Regions from separate parts of the Homo sapiens genome. Here region 1 is linked to region 2. Evidence: promoter capture Hi-C in 16 types of primary human blood cells and fetal thymus (Javierre and others, 2016). All regions are on one chromosome and are shown on one strand. Each heading gives the region's core, a stretch centred on a gene start or on the middle of the fragment in contact. The rest is flanking DNA. Distances are from core to core; before and after follow the strand shown.

Evidence for each region. Contacts are between HindIII fragments. The CHiCAGO score rates a contact against its expected background, and 5 or more counts as called.
Region 1: the fragment with the promoter of AHNAK here is called in contact with a fragment that was not itself captured in region 2 in 3 of 17 cell types (naive B cells, naive CD4 T cells and total CD8 T cells); the score reaches 6.2 in naive B cells.

What each region holds. Positions count from the first base shown.
Region 1 is chr11:62,543,820-62,549,552 of GRCh38, reverse strand. It overlaps AHNAK (AHNAK nucleoprotein), which reads left to right and starts at 2,747. Exons shown (of 5, transcript NM_001620.3): 1 at 2,747-2,893. RefSeq lists enhancers at 2,110-2,640, 3,219-3,729, 3,730-4,240 and silencers at 2,596-2,765, 2,886-2,955, 3,236-3,285, 3,296-3,415, 3,946-4,075. The HindIII fragment of the contact is 5,633 bases long and covers 1-4,839 here.
Region 2 is chr11:62,881,895-62,888,262 of GRCh38, reverse strand. It overlaps SLC3A2 (solute carrier family 3 member 2), which reads right to left. Exons shown (of 9, transcript NM_001013251.3): 2 at 6,197-6,368; 3 at 5,264-5,355; 4 at 3,738-3,806; 5 at 3,573-3,631; 6 at 2,906-3,086; 7 at 2,655-2,798; 8 at 45-128. Among named protein-coding and RNA genes, the nearest start is that of SLC3A2, 4.2 kb to the right of the region's middle. RefSeq lists an enhancer at 5,892-6,368. The HindIII fragment of the contact is 1,760 bases long and covers 3,710-5,469 here.

The DNA.
Region 1 (5,733 bases), core at 1,498-3,997, 340 kb after region 2:
CCCGAGTAGCTGGGACTACAGGCGCACACCACCATGCCCGGCTAATTTTTGTATTTTGAGTAGATACGGGGTTTCATCATGTTGCCCAGGCTGGTCTTGAACTCCTGACCTCAGGTGATCCGCCTGCCTCGGCCTCCCAAAGTGCTAATTTTTATATTTTTAGGAAAGACGGGGTTTCACCATGTTGGCCAGGATGGTCTCGATCTCTTGACCTCATGATCTGCCCCCGCTCAGCCTCCCAAAGTGCTGAGATTACAAGCGTGAGCCACCGCCCCCGGTCAGGATCATGGTTTTTTAGAGGGTAGGGTTGAGGTTAAGCCTTCTCTAGCCCTCCAGTCTGGAATGGGACAAGAGCCAGTCCTCAGAACTACCCCCCGACCAGGTAATCTTGACATTCATATCCCTGAATGAAGTACCTGGTCAGTGATCTCTGCTCTGGGGCTGCTTCAAAAACCAACCTCTCCCTCCTGCCTTCTTCCCTGTTGACCAAGAGGGTGGCCAGAACAAACAATGGAGCAGATAAGTTGGCTCTGAGCCTGGGACTCTGGCCTCTGCTGTTTGGATCCTGGGGGGCCGATCTAGCCCAGTCGAGGCGAAGACACAGCGTCCACGCCTTTCCGTGCTCTTCTTCCTTTTCTGCTCTAGCAGCCCCCCACGCCCCCTTAGCCCTTTTTGCAGATACCCTGTGTTTCCAACCTAGGTGTGAATCAACTCCTGTTTTAATATGCACTGGGAACATTCGCTCTTTCAAGGAACGAGATGATGATTCATTCCATAAAGTTAAAAATCCTTTGGTAAACTGTTAACAATGGTTACTTTTGGGAAGAGGGACTGTGATAGGGGAGGAGGGAGAAGTCTGTGTTTTATTGTACTTTTTTTTTTTTGAGATGGAGTCTCGCTCTGTCACCCAGGCTGGACTGCAGTGGCACGATCTTGGCTCACTGCAACCTCTGCCTCCCAAGTTTAAGGGATTCTCCTGCCTTAGCTTCCCGAGCAGCTGGGATTACAGGCTGCGCCACCATGCCCTGCTAATTTTTGTATTTTTAGTCGAGGCGGGGTTTCACTATGTTGGCCAGGCTGGTCTCGAACTCCTGAGCTCAAGTGATCCACCTGCCTTGGCTTCCCAAAGTGCTGGAATTACAGGTGTGAGGCATCGCGCCTGGCCTTGGTAATTTTTTTTTAAGTGTTCTATAGCTCAAAAGTTTTAGATTTGTTTTTTCTTTAAATAAGGTAGGTGCTAGGAAAGGGGTGCAGAACAAAATGGGGGAGCAGGTGATTCTTGGGAAAGTGTGAGTCTGTGACTGTGTGCTTGGGATGTGTTGTGGCGAGGCTGCCTCTGCCATGGGGTTGAGTCATTATCTGGGCACCTGTGTGTGTGTATTAGAGAGAGCAAGAGAAAATGCTGGTGCCCAAGTCTCCGCTTTGTGTTTTCACATGTCTCTGCCTGTCTGGATGTCTGCACATGCGGCTCCACCTTTCTGTGTCCATTATATGAGTGCCCATGTCTGTGGTTCCTCTGGCTGTCTCTTCCCTCCCCCACGGCCTGTACTCTGTGCCGGTAACTGGACCTGGACACAGCCCCCAGGGCTGGCAGCAGAGTTGACTGCTGGGTATTTTTAGCCTGTAAACATGTTTGCCATTTCAGAGGACAGGGCCGAGCTGGTCTCAGCTCCAGCCCACTCATGATCTTGCAGCAAGGAGGGCGCTCCTGCCTTGGCCAGGTCTCCTTAGTTCCCCAGCCTGGGGTCTCTCTTTCCTTAGCATTTGGGAAGGAGGGGAAACTGGCTTGGAGCGGGCAGTGGGTGGCCACCTAGGAGGGAGGATAAAAGGACTCATGAGGGAGAAGAGAAAGGGAGTGTGGAGGGGAGTGTGTAGCCAGAAGGCCCCCGCACCCCATCATTAAACGTTTAATAAAATCTCGATGTAGTTAGAAGTGGCTGTGGGAAATCGCTGTAAATTAGGAGACTCAGCGTCCCGCAAGTGGGGAGGCGGGGGCGGCGCTCAGAGAAGGAATGGGAGGCAGAGGAAGCGCTGGGGCTCTGGCTCCTGGGGGCGGGAGTCTGGAGAGGAAGGTGGGCGTCGGGTCCGCTGTCCAACGCCCGGGGTCCTCACCCCCGTATGCCCGCGGCCTGCGCAGCACCGCGGTGCGCGAGGCACTGGTGACCCCGGCTCCTGGGGGGTGGAAATCCAAGCCAGTTCTGTGCGGATATGGACGGAGGGGCCCCCAGAAAGAGAGAACGCGAGAAATGGGCGCGGCAGCACGGAGCTTGGGAACCAAGCAAGGAGGCTGGGGCCTGGGATCTGAAGTGTAGTTGCCTAAGCTGAGAGAAAACTCAAAGGTCCGGAGCAAGCTGACGGTCGCGGCTGAATCACCCAGCCACCTTCAGAGCCCCCAGGCCCTTCCTGCAAAATAAGTTGATTCGCAGTTCCAGCTGTGAGGGTGAGCCCAGGGAGCCTGCAGGAGTTTCTTGCCAATGAAGCCACACAGTGCACATGTTGGAGAGCAGGTCCAGGTCCGGGACAGGACAGGGGGCAGTGGATGCGGGGAGGGGGGGAAAGAATGTCCCCGCGTCCCCCAGCGGCCCCCCTCCCCAGCAGCCCACTCCCGGGTCCCTCCAGGGTCTGCCCCGCTCGCCAGTCCCAGCCCCGCTCCGGCCCCGCCCGGCCCCGCCCTCTCCCCACAGCTCCGGGCAGACCCGCCCGCCCGAGCCGGAGTTACAAGAGCCGCCTCCGCGCACGGGGGCCCGGCCACTCGGAGCTGCTCTGCCGCGGGGACTGCACCGCCCGCCCTGCCAGACCCGCCCGGAACGGGGCTCGTCGCCGCCAGTAGCCGCAGCACCGCAGCCTTGGGCCTCGCGCCGGCTATGGCCGTGCCCTGGGGCTGAGCCCTCAGGTAGGGGCGCCAGGCGCACCGTGGCGCCATCGGGGTCCGGGGCACCAAGGGCGGGTCGCGGGGAGGTGGGTTGCGGTGCTCCGGCAGGGCGCGTTGTTGGGGGTGTCACTGTGAGGATTCAAGCAGTTTGGAGCAAGCGGGGCCACCCGGGGCGGCGACGCGTCGCTCTCTGGGAGCGGAGTTCTGCCTCTGGAGTTGGGGCGCAAGTTGGTTAAAGTTGGAAAATCGCTCCGAAGTGCTTTGCTCCACTCTTTATTTCTCCGGAGGGCGGACTGTTGGCTCCACTGCAAGGCAGGGCGCCCCGTTCCGGGCCTGGTGGCCTCTGTCCCACCTCCTCTCCCTGCATGGGGCGGTGGCTCGGGGGCTGCTCCGTTCGTATCCCATGTTTACTGGAGGGGAAATTTCCGAGATCGCCACCGCGGCCCCCAGCGCCTCCGCGCCTCCGCGACCCCGCACCGTGCGCCCCCTCGGCTGTCCTTCCGCGCTCCCTGCACCTCTGCCCCTAACCGCGTCCCGAGTCGTCCAGGCCCCACCCTGTTCTGTACCACCAGCCCCTCAGCCTCCTCCAGCTGCCCCGCCCTAGCCTTGCCTCTCCGCGTTCCCCGCTCCAGAAAACCTTCCTCTCGGGCCGCGGAACCTGGAAGTTTGCAATGCGCCTCCCAGCGGGATGGGTGGGGAGGGGGACAAAATTAGGGAGATTCCTATGCTGAGGTGGGCGAGGAGGGGGGTGCGCTGCGGCGGCCCAGTCCTCGGGACCGCCCCTTCCCCTCCGGAGGCGGCGCTTTCCCCCCGCCCAACTCCCAAACCCGTCCGGGCGGGATGGCCCCCGCCCCAGAGCCTGGCCCGGCGCCAGCAGCCTGAGGAATGTGGTGGTTGGAGCCGGTGACTAATTCAAACCAGAACTCAGGGAGGAGTGGTGAGGGGCAAAGGGGAGGAGGAAGGGGCTGTGTGTGGGAGTTGGGGGCAGGAGCCGGGCTTGGCGTGGGAGGAGGGCTAAGCTGCGCTCGCTGGAACCCTGCGCTCCAGCGGTGCGCGCCAGGAGAGGGGGCCCGAAGCGAGGTCTCGCCTAGAGTTGGAAAGGCAGCGTGCTTAGGGTGTGTGCAGAGCTGTGTTATGTAAGGCTTTCCCATGCAAGGGGAGGGGGTGTGTGTGTGCAGTGTGCGAGGGCCTGGGCCGTCCCTGGCAGGGCTGGTCGCCCCCCAGCAGTGCCCAGGCCGGGATGTGGGGGCGCAGCCCCTTGGCGGCGCTGACCATGAGGGACTCCAGGGGCCCAAACAGGGCTGGCTGTGCCCCTTGCTGGGAGGGGTGCGGAGGGGGCAGATGGGTGTTCTCAGCTGTAGCCGAGGCCCCACAACAAGGTGGGGAACGGCTCTGGCCCCTCTGCACAATGAGGCCACTGAGGGTTGTGTGCGATGTGTGTGCTTGCCGGTTTCGCAGGGTGTGGCTCCCGCCGCGGCGACCGTGGCAGTGAGGTGCTCCCAGGGAGCGTGCGGTCGCTGCAGAGTGCCCTGCTCTGTGGAGGGGATTTGTGGAAAGGCAGTGTGGGAGCCTCCCAAGTCAGTCAGGTCCTTAGACCTCCGGAGTCTCCGGAGGAAAAGGGACCGAGATATCTACCTCTGTGTCTCCAGCACAGCGCTGGGCGCTCAGTAAATACTGGTTTCGAACCCGTCTTCATTAGAATCCAACCTCGGATTGCAGGGCTCCTGCTCTCTGCTTGCCCGTCCCAGCACAGCCTAGTGCATGGTAGGTGTTGGGTTGATTTTGTGGAATACAGTGAGGGGCTGCAGCAGTGAAGCTGAGAGTGGGGGAAGGCGTTTAAGGGCCCCTGCACCTATACTGGCTGTAATTCAGGGTAGAGATCTCGCTTTCATCCCCTCCCCGTGAGGGAAATCCCAGGGGCAGGGTGTGGCACTCACTTCCTTTCAGAAGCTGAATGGGGGGAAGCTTCCTTCTCCAGTCCTTAGGGACAGCGGGGTCACCCACCCCCCACCGCGTGGATAGTGGCCTGTGCAGAATGGGGAGGACAGGGGAGCCCCCAAGTTAGGGGCACCTCTTTGCTCTGAGCTGTGAGCTTTGGGGTGAGGGAGGGTGGGAGAGGAGCTAGGGAGGGTAAGAGTGGAGCTAGGAGAGGTCGCAGGGTTTGGGGGCTGTGGGAATGTGGGTTAGAGGGTGTCTGAGCCCCTCTCTAAAGCCTTTGTCCCTAAGAGGTTATGCACAGGGACACTGGTCAGAGAACAGGGACACATGGGGAGCCACATAAGTCATGCGGGCTGATATGGAGGCCCACAGCAGCGATTCAGGGGTCCTGGTCCGGGAACTCCTTGAGGAGCCAACCCCTCGGAGCTGAGGACTTGTGGCAGCCAGACATGGTCCAGGGCCAGGGGTGGGACACAGGGACCTGTTGAGGGAGAAGGTCCAGCGTCAGCCCAGGGTACGGAGTTGGCTGGGGGTCCCCGGAGTCATCTTAGCCCTCAGGAAGTCCTGGGGAAAGGTGGCGGTGCTGCCAGGCTGGATTCTTTTGCTCGACTTGGAATTGGCTGGTGGGTCCTGGCAGAGCCGGTCACCCTGAGCCTGAGGAGCTGGTTTGAGGGGTTGGGGCAAAGCCGTGGGGGCGGAGGGGTGTGTGGGGCTCTGGGGTGTGGTCACCACCTTCTTTAGAACTTGGGAACTGCCTGGAGACAGACAGAGAGACAGACCGGGAGAGCTAGTCCTACTCCTTATGGGAACAGTGTGGCTCTCTCCCCCACCATTCCCGAGGCCCCAAAGTTTCTCTCCCCGGAGCTGGGCTGGCACCGTGCTGTGCACGCTTAGGTTTGAGGAAGGGTGATGGCCGCTGGGGA
Region 2 (6,368 bases), core at 3,340-5,839:
GCCCACCCTCCACCGGTCAGTTTCTACCCATCTAGAACTCTTACCTTCACAGTCATGTTGGCACTTACAGCCCCTGGGATGTCAGGGAAGCTGGACTCATCCCACAGCATGACTGGAGCCTCCATAGGCTGAAAAGCAGAGAAAATAGGACTTTAAAAAGGCCTGGGGTCAGGCATGGTGGCTCACATCTGTAATTCCAGCAGTCTGGGAGGTCAAGGCCAAGAGGATTGCTTGAGCCCAGGCATTTGAAACCAGCCTCAGCAACATAATGAGCCCTCATCTCTACTACAAAATTTTTAAAAATTAGCTGGGTGTAGTGTTACATCCCTATAGTCCCAGATACTGGGGAGGCTGAGGAGGGAGGATCACTTGAACCCAGGAGTTTGAGCTTGCAGTGAGCCATGACTCCACCACTGTACTCCAGCCTGGGCAACAGAGTGAGACCCTGTCTCAAAAAAAAAGCCCTGGGCCCACTGTCCCGTATCCCTCTTCCCATTCACATCCTCATCAATATATAACCTCCCCAACTCATGTCTGGCTAACTTTTTTTTTTTTTTTTTTTTGAGACGGAGTCTCGCTCTGTTCAGGCTGGAGTGCAATGGCACGATCTTGGCTTACTGCAATCTCTGCCTCCTGGGTTCAAGCGATTCTCCTGCCTCAGCCTCCCCAGTAGCTGACCATAGGTGTGCACCACCACACCCAGCTAATTTTTTTGTATTTTTAGTAAAGACGGGGTTTCACCATGTTGGCTAGGCTGGTCTCGAACTCTTGACCTCAGGTGATCCACCCACCTTGGCCTCCCAAAGTGCTGGGATTACAGGCATAAGCCACGACACCCGGCCTGGCTAACTTCTACTGGATGAGTGAGGCAGGCTCCCACCTCAGGGTCCTCACACATACACTGTTGCCCCTCAGCCAAGAGCTCCCAGATGGCTGCCAGCCAGCTCTCTCACTTCCCTCAGGTATCTGCTTGGTTATCTTACCAGGTCTCCTATGGCTACTCTCTATAAAACAAGCCCCATCATCCCCTAGTCTCTAGGCTCCTTACCCCGCCTTCTTTTGCATAGCACTGATCAGCAGCTGGCGTTTTATTTATGCATATCTAATTATCTAACCACCTCCAGCTCTCTTGTGCAATGCTGTATCCTCAGTGTAACAGACAGAAATTATTCTATAAACATCTGTGGAATAAATGAATAACTGGTTCTATAAACATCATGCTGATGGCCGGGTGCAGTGGCTCGCACCTGTAATCATAGCAGTTTGGGAGGCCAAGGTGGGAGGATCATTTGCACCCAGGAGTTTGAGAACAGCCTGGGCAACATAGTGAGACCACACCTCTACAAATTTTAAAAATTAGCTGTGGCCAGGCACAGTGGCTCACACCTGTAGTCCCAGCAATTTGGGAGATCAGGGCAGGCAGAGCGATTGAGCCCAGGAGTTGGAGACCAGCCTGGGCAACAACAGTGAAAGCCTGTCTCTACAAAAATTAGCCGGGCATGGTGGTGTGTGCCTGTATTCCCAGACCACCTGTATTCCCAGCTACTTGGGAAGCTGAGGCAGGAGTATCACTTGAACCCAAGAGGCAGAGGTTGCAGTGAGACATAATCGCACCACTGCAATCCAGCCAGATCAACAGAGCAAGAACCTGTCTCCAAAAAAAAAAAAGATCAGCTGGGCATGATGGCACGCACCTATCTATGGTACATATCCCAGCTACTCAGGAGGCTGAGGTGGGATGATCACTTCGGCCTGGGAGGCGGAGGCTGCAATGAACCAAGATCATGCCACTGCACTCCAGCCTGGGCGACATAGGGAAATGCTGTCTTAAAAACAAAAACAAAAAACAAACAAACAAACAAAAAAAAAAAGTCGGGGATCAACAGTAACCCTGTATCTAAAGCTAGTGAATGCCTTTGTAGTAGTATCCCTACCATGTATTTCTTTCTTTCTTTTCTTTTCTTTTTTTTTTTGGAGAAGGAGTCTCCCTCTGCCGCCCAGGCTAAAGTGCAGTGGCACAATCTCAGTTCACTGCAACCTCTGCCTCCAGGTTCAAGCGATTCTCTTGCCTCAGCCTCCCCAGTAGCTGGGACTACAGGCGTGCACCACCACACCTGGCTAATTTTTGTATTTTTAGTAGAGACTGGGTTTCACCCTGTTGGCTAGGCTGGTTTCGAACTCCTTACCTCCAGTGATCCACCCACCTTGGACTCCCAAAGTGCTAGGATTACAGGCATGAGCCACCGTGCCCAGCCACTGCCATGTACTTCTCCACTTATTTATCTGGCTCCCTCACTAAACTATGAGCTCCTGAGGGCACAGAGCCTAGCACAGTACCCACTGTCCAAAGAATAAAGGAATGAATAAATGAATGGTGGCTACCATAGCAAACATCTGCCAGGTACCAGGCATTACCATTAAAAACATGCCCTCATTTAATACTAACCACCCTTCAAGAAATGCAGTAACACAAGGGATGACCAAAATTCAGAAAGGTAAAATAATTTGCCCAAAGCCACATAGCCACTCAGCTACTGACTAAGAATCAAACGCGTTTTCACCCCAAGGCTCACGTCTATGTGCCGCCATCCCCAGAATCATCATTGTAAGATGGATAAACAACCTCCCTGTGACAGAAAGACAGCAAGCAGTACCTGTCCAGGAAGGGCAGCTGCATCCAGGCCAATCTCATCCCCGTAGCTGAAAACAGGGGTCCCTGGCAGGGTGAAGAGCATCAGCTGGTAGAGTCGGAGAAGTTGAGCCGGCAAGAAGGAAGTCAGGAGCCTTGCCTGAGACAACTACAGGGAGAGACACTCCAGTGAGCCCCATAACCCACCTCTGCCTCTGTCTCCCAACAACCCTTTCTTCTCCCATCTGCCCCCTTTCCCACCAGCATGGTACTCACACTCCAGCTGCACCAGCGATTGCCAGTGGCATTCAAATACTGTGTGACTAGGGATTTTGTATGCTCCCCAGTAGAACCAGAATCAGACAGGTATGAGCTAGTCAACAGCAAGTCTTTGTTGGATTCGAGTAGGCTCAGGATCTGCTGAAGGTCGGAGGAGTTAGTCCCCGCAATCAAGAGCCTGCAGAGGGGAGGGAGGAGTTCAAGGTTAGCACAAGAAAGAATGGGGCCAGGCGCAGTGGCTCACGCCTGTAATCCCAACACTTTGGGAGGCTGAGGCGGGTGGATCACTTGAGGTCAGGAGTTCGAGACTGGCTTGACCAACATGGAGAAACCCCGTCTCTACTAAAAATACAAAATTAGCCAGGTGTGGTGGCCCGCGTCTGTAATCCCAGCTACTTGGGATGCTGAGGCAGGAGAATCGCTTGAACCCAGGAGGCAGAGGTTGCAGTGAGCCAAGATCACGCCATCGCACCCCAGCCTGGGCAAAAAGAGCGGAACTCCATCTCAAAAAAAAAAAAAAAAAAAAAAAAAAAAAAAAAAAGCTAAAGAAAGAATAAAGGTAAAGAAAATGCTCTAGACTAGGAATCCCCCCTTCTTAGGCCTAGCACTCCACTGAGGGGTTCCCACATTGGAGCTGAGTCAGCAGAATGGCTCCTGCACCCACCTGTCTTCACTGAAGCCCTTGGTGATATTTTGCCACTCAGCCAAGAATGAGGATGCATCCTAGAAAGAAAAAAGCAGAATCAAGGACCAGAGAATATTATGAGGCTCTAGCTGAGTCCCTCTGTTCTCGCCCAAGCTTTGTCCCTAATGTGGAAAGGGAACTCACCTTCAGATTCTCTATGTCCCGAACCTGGAACCCATCCACGCCAGCTTGCAGCCAAAACTCCAGAGCATCCTATAGGGGGCAGAAGAATAAAGGACAGACATCAGTTCTCAGGAAAAGGCTCAGAAAATTCCAGCCCACACTAAACCTCACCCACCACACACTTCCCCGGGAGCTGGGGAGAGTCCTGTGCCTTGCCTGGGTCTTCCCCACCTGCACTACAAAGGCTTAGCCTTTGGACCCCTCCAGCTCTACCCTTCCACTCATTTTCTTAGTGCTACAGCATTTTACTTCTCATTCTTGCCTCTGGCAAATCACACAGCTTCAACTTTGAAAGCCACAGAAAAGGCCCCAGAGAAAAGGTATGTCCATAAACATAACTTCGTTTAACACTTAGCATTGGAATGTTAGCATACCTATTTTAGAGATGAAGAAACAGACCCAGAGAAGCAGGGAGACGCGTCCACAGTCATAATCAGTGAGCAGCAGACAGGATCTAAAATGTCAGTCAAGATCCCCCCTCTCCCAGTTTCCTGAGGCCTGGGGAAGGTGTGAGTACAATAACTGCTCAGAGCAAGGCCAAGGATGAAAGATTGAAATTCAAAGCATAGCCCCAGGGCAGTTTAGATTTGAAAAGAGGCCAGTGCTGCTGAATGGAATCCTGGCAGTCCTGCACACACTGTGGAACTTCACCCCCATTCTCCTTTTCTTCCCTTTCTCTGGGCCATGTACTCTCTCCTCTGGTCTCCATTTCCATCTGAGGGTACCGCCCCTCATGCCAAACCATCCAAAAACATTCCCTCATCAGCAACTTTTAAAGGGTCCCCTAGTAACTGGCAAGGCCTAAACTGGATGATCCCGGGGTCCTACCCAAATGCTGGGAGTCCAGAATTCTATCTTAGAATCACAGCTACCAGCAGTGTCAGTATCTGCTTCCATTTTTGTTCTACCCATTCTGAACAGGTCAGTGTCCTAGGACCCAGACATCAGGAGCTAGGTGACATTCAAAGCCCTACTCCTAGCCTGCTGGGTACACATTTGAACCTATGGCAAATTATATACCTTGTATGGTTATACAGAGAATTAGAAAACATCTATAAAATACTTGGCATAGAGTCCCAGACACATAGGAGTACCCCAGTGCTTATAATTTCAGACTGGGCTCTATTCCAAACACATCAAACAAGAACTGGGAAACCAGTCAGGACAGGATTCTCACAGAGAAAGGGCTTCCTCTCCCAAAAGAAAGAAAAATCAAACTTCCAGACTGACTTCTGAGAAGGTCCCTTCCTGGCACTGTCTCATCCTCAGAGTCAAGGAAATAAGAAAAATAAGAGGTCAGAAAAGGAACAAGAAAAACAGGTGTGCTATTGGCCTATCCTTTGGCTATAGGAGGAGGCATTCCTCCTTGGTCCTAAGGAGCAAAGGGACCCTCAGCTGGAGTCAGGCTGGGTCTACAGGGCTTGCTGTGAAAGGACTGTCCCAGCCCCAGCATCTGACTTCCACCAGCCATCAGCTCCAACACTCACCTTCACCTTGGTGGCCACAGTGTCAACCTGAGTGGAGAACCACGAGTTCTCACCCCGGTAGTTGGGAGTAAGGTCCAGAATGACACGGATGCCTAAAACAACGGAGGAAGACGCAATCATGAGACAGTCTATGAGTTAAGGGAAAATAAGGAAATCACAAATGCAAGTCACTGAGTGTTTCCTATGTATTACTTGGTACAAAAGCTTGAATTTGAACCCGGGCAAAATTCATTCCATTGAAACAGATGTGAGCAAGGAAGGGCCTTAAGATATGGGAAGGCAGGCCAGGCGAGTTCAAAACCAGACCGGTCAACATGTTGAAAATTGTCTCTACTAAAAATAAAAAAATTATCTGGGTGTGGTGGCACACGGCTGTAGTACCAGCTACTCAGGAGGCTGAGGCACGAGAATCGCTTGAACCCTGGGGGAGGAGGCTGCAGTAAGCTGAGATCGTTCCACTGCACTGCAGCCTGGGTGACAAGAGTGAGACTCCATCTCAAAAAAAAAAAAAGATATTGGAAGGCAGAAAGTTTATAGTGCAGAGAAGTGGCCCCTGTGTTCCCCACTCCCAAAGTGAACCTTTTTAAACATGTGTCTATATCGAGTCGTAAAACAATATTTGGGATTCCCCCCCCCCAAAAAAACCTACTGTTTTACAAGTTTAAAACCACTGGTTTAGTAAATATCTATATTTTGCAAATAAGGGCACTGAAGCCCAGAAGTTAAATGACCTGCTCAAGATTCCACAGCCAAGTAGAAAGCCCCCAGACGACTGGACAAATCCATTTTAGGCTGAAGACTAACAAATCTCCCCTCTACCTGCCCTAGGAAAACTCAGAGCCAGTTAGCAGGAAACCAGACAAAAGTTCTAGCCTACTTTTCCTCTGGCCAAGTCCTTTCTAGCTGTTTCCTTGGGAACCCCAGGATACCCACTCTTTTTTTTAGCCGATTGCAAGAGACTGTCAAAATCTTCCTTGGAGCCAAAATTGGGGTCGATCTGCAGCAAGTCAGTCTGAGCGACATCATCCTTCTGGTTCTTGTGAATTGGACCCAGCACAAGGCCCTTCACCTTCAGAGAGCTCAGGTAATCGAGACGCCCCTTCAG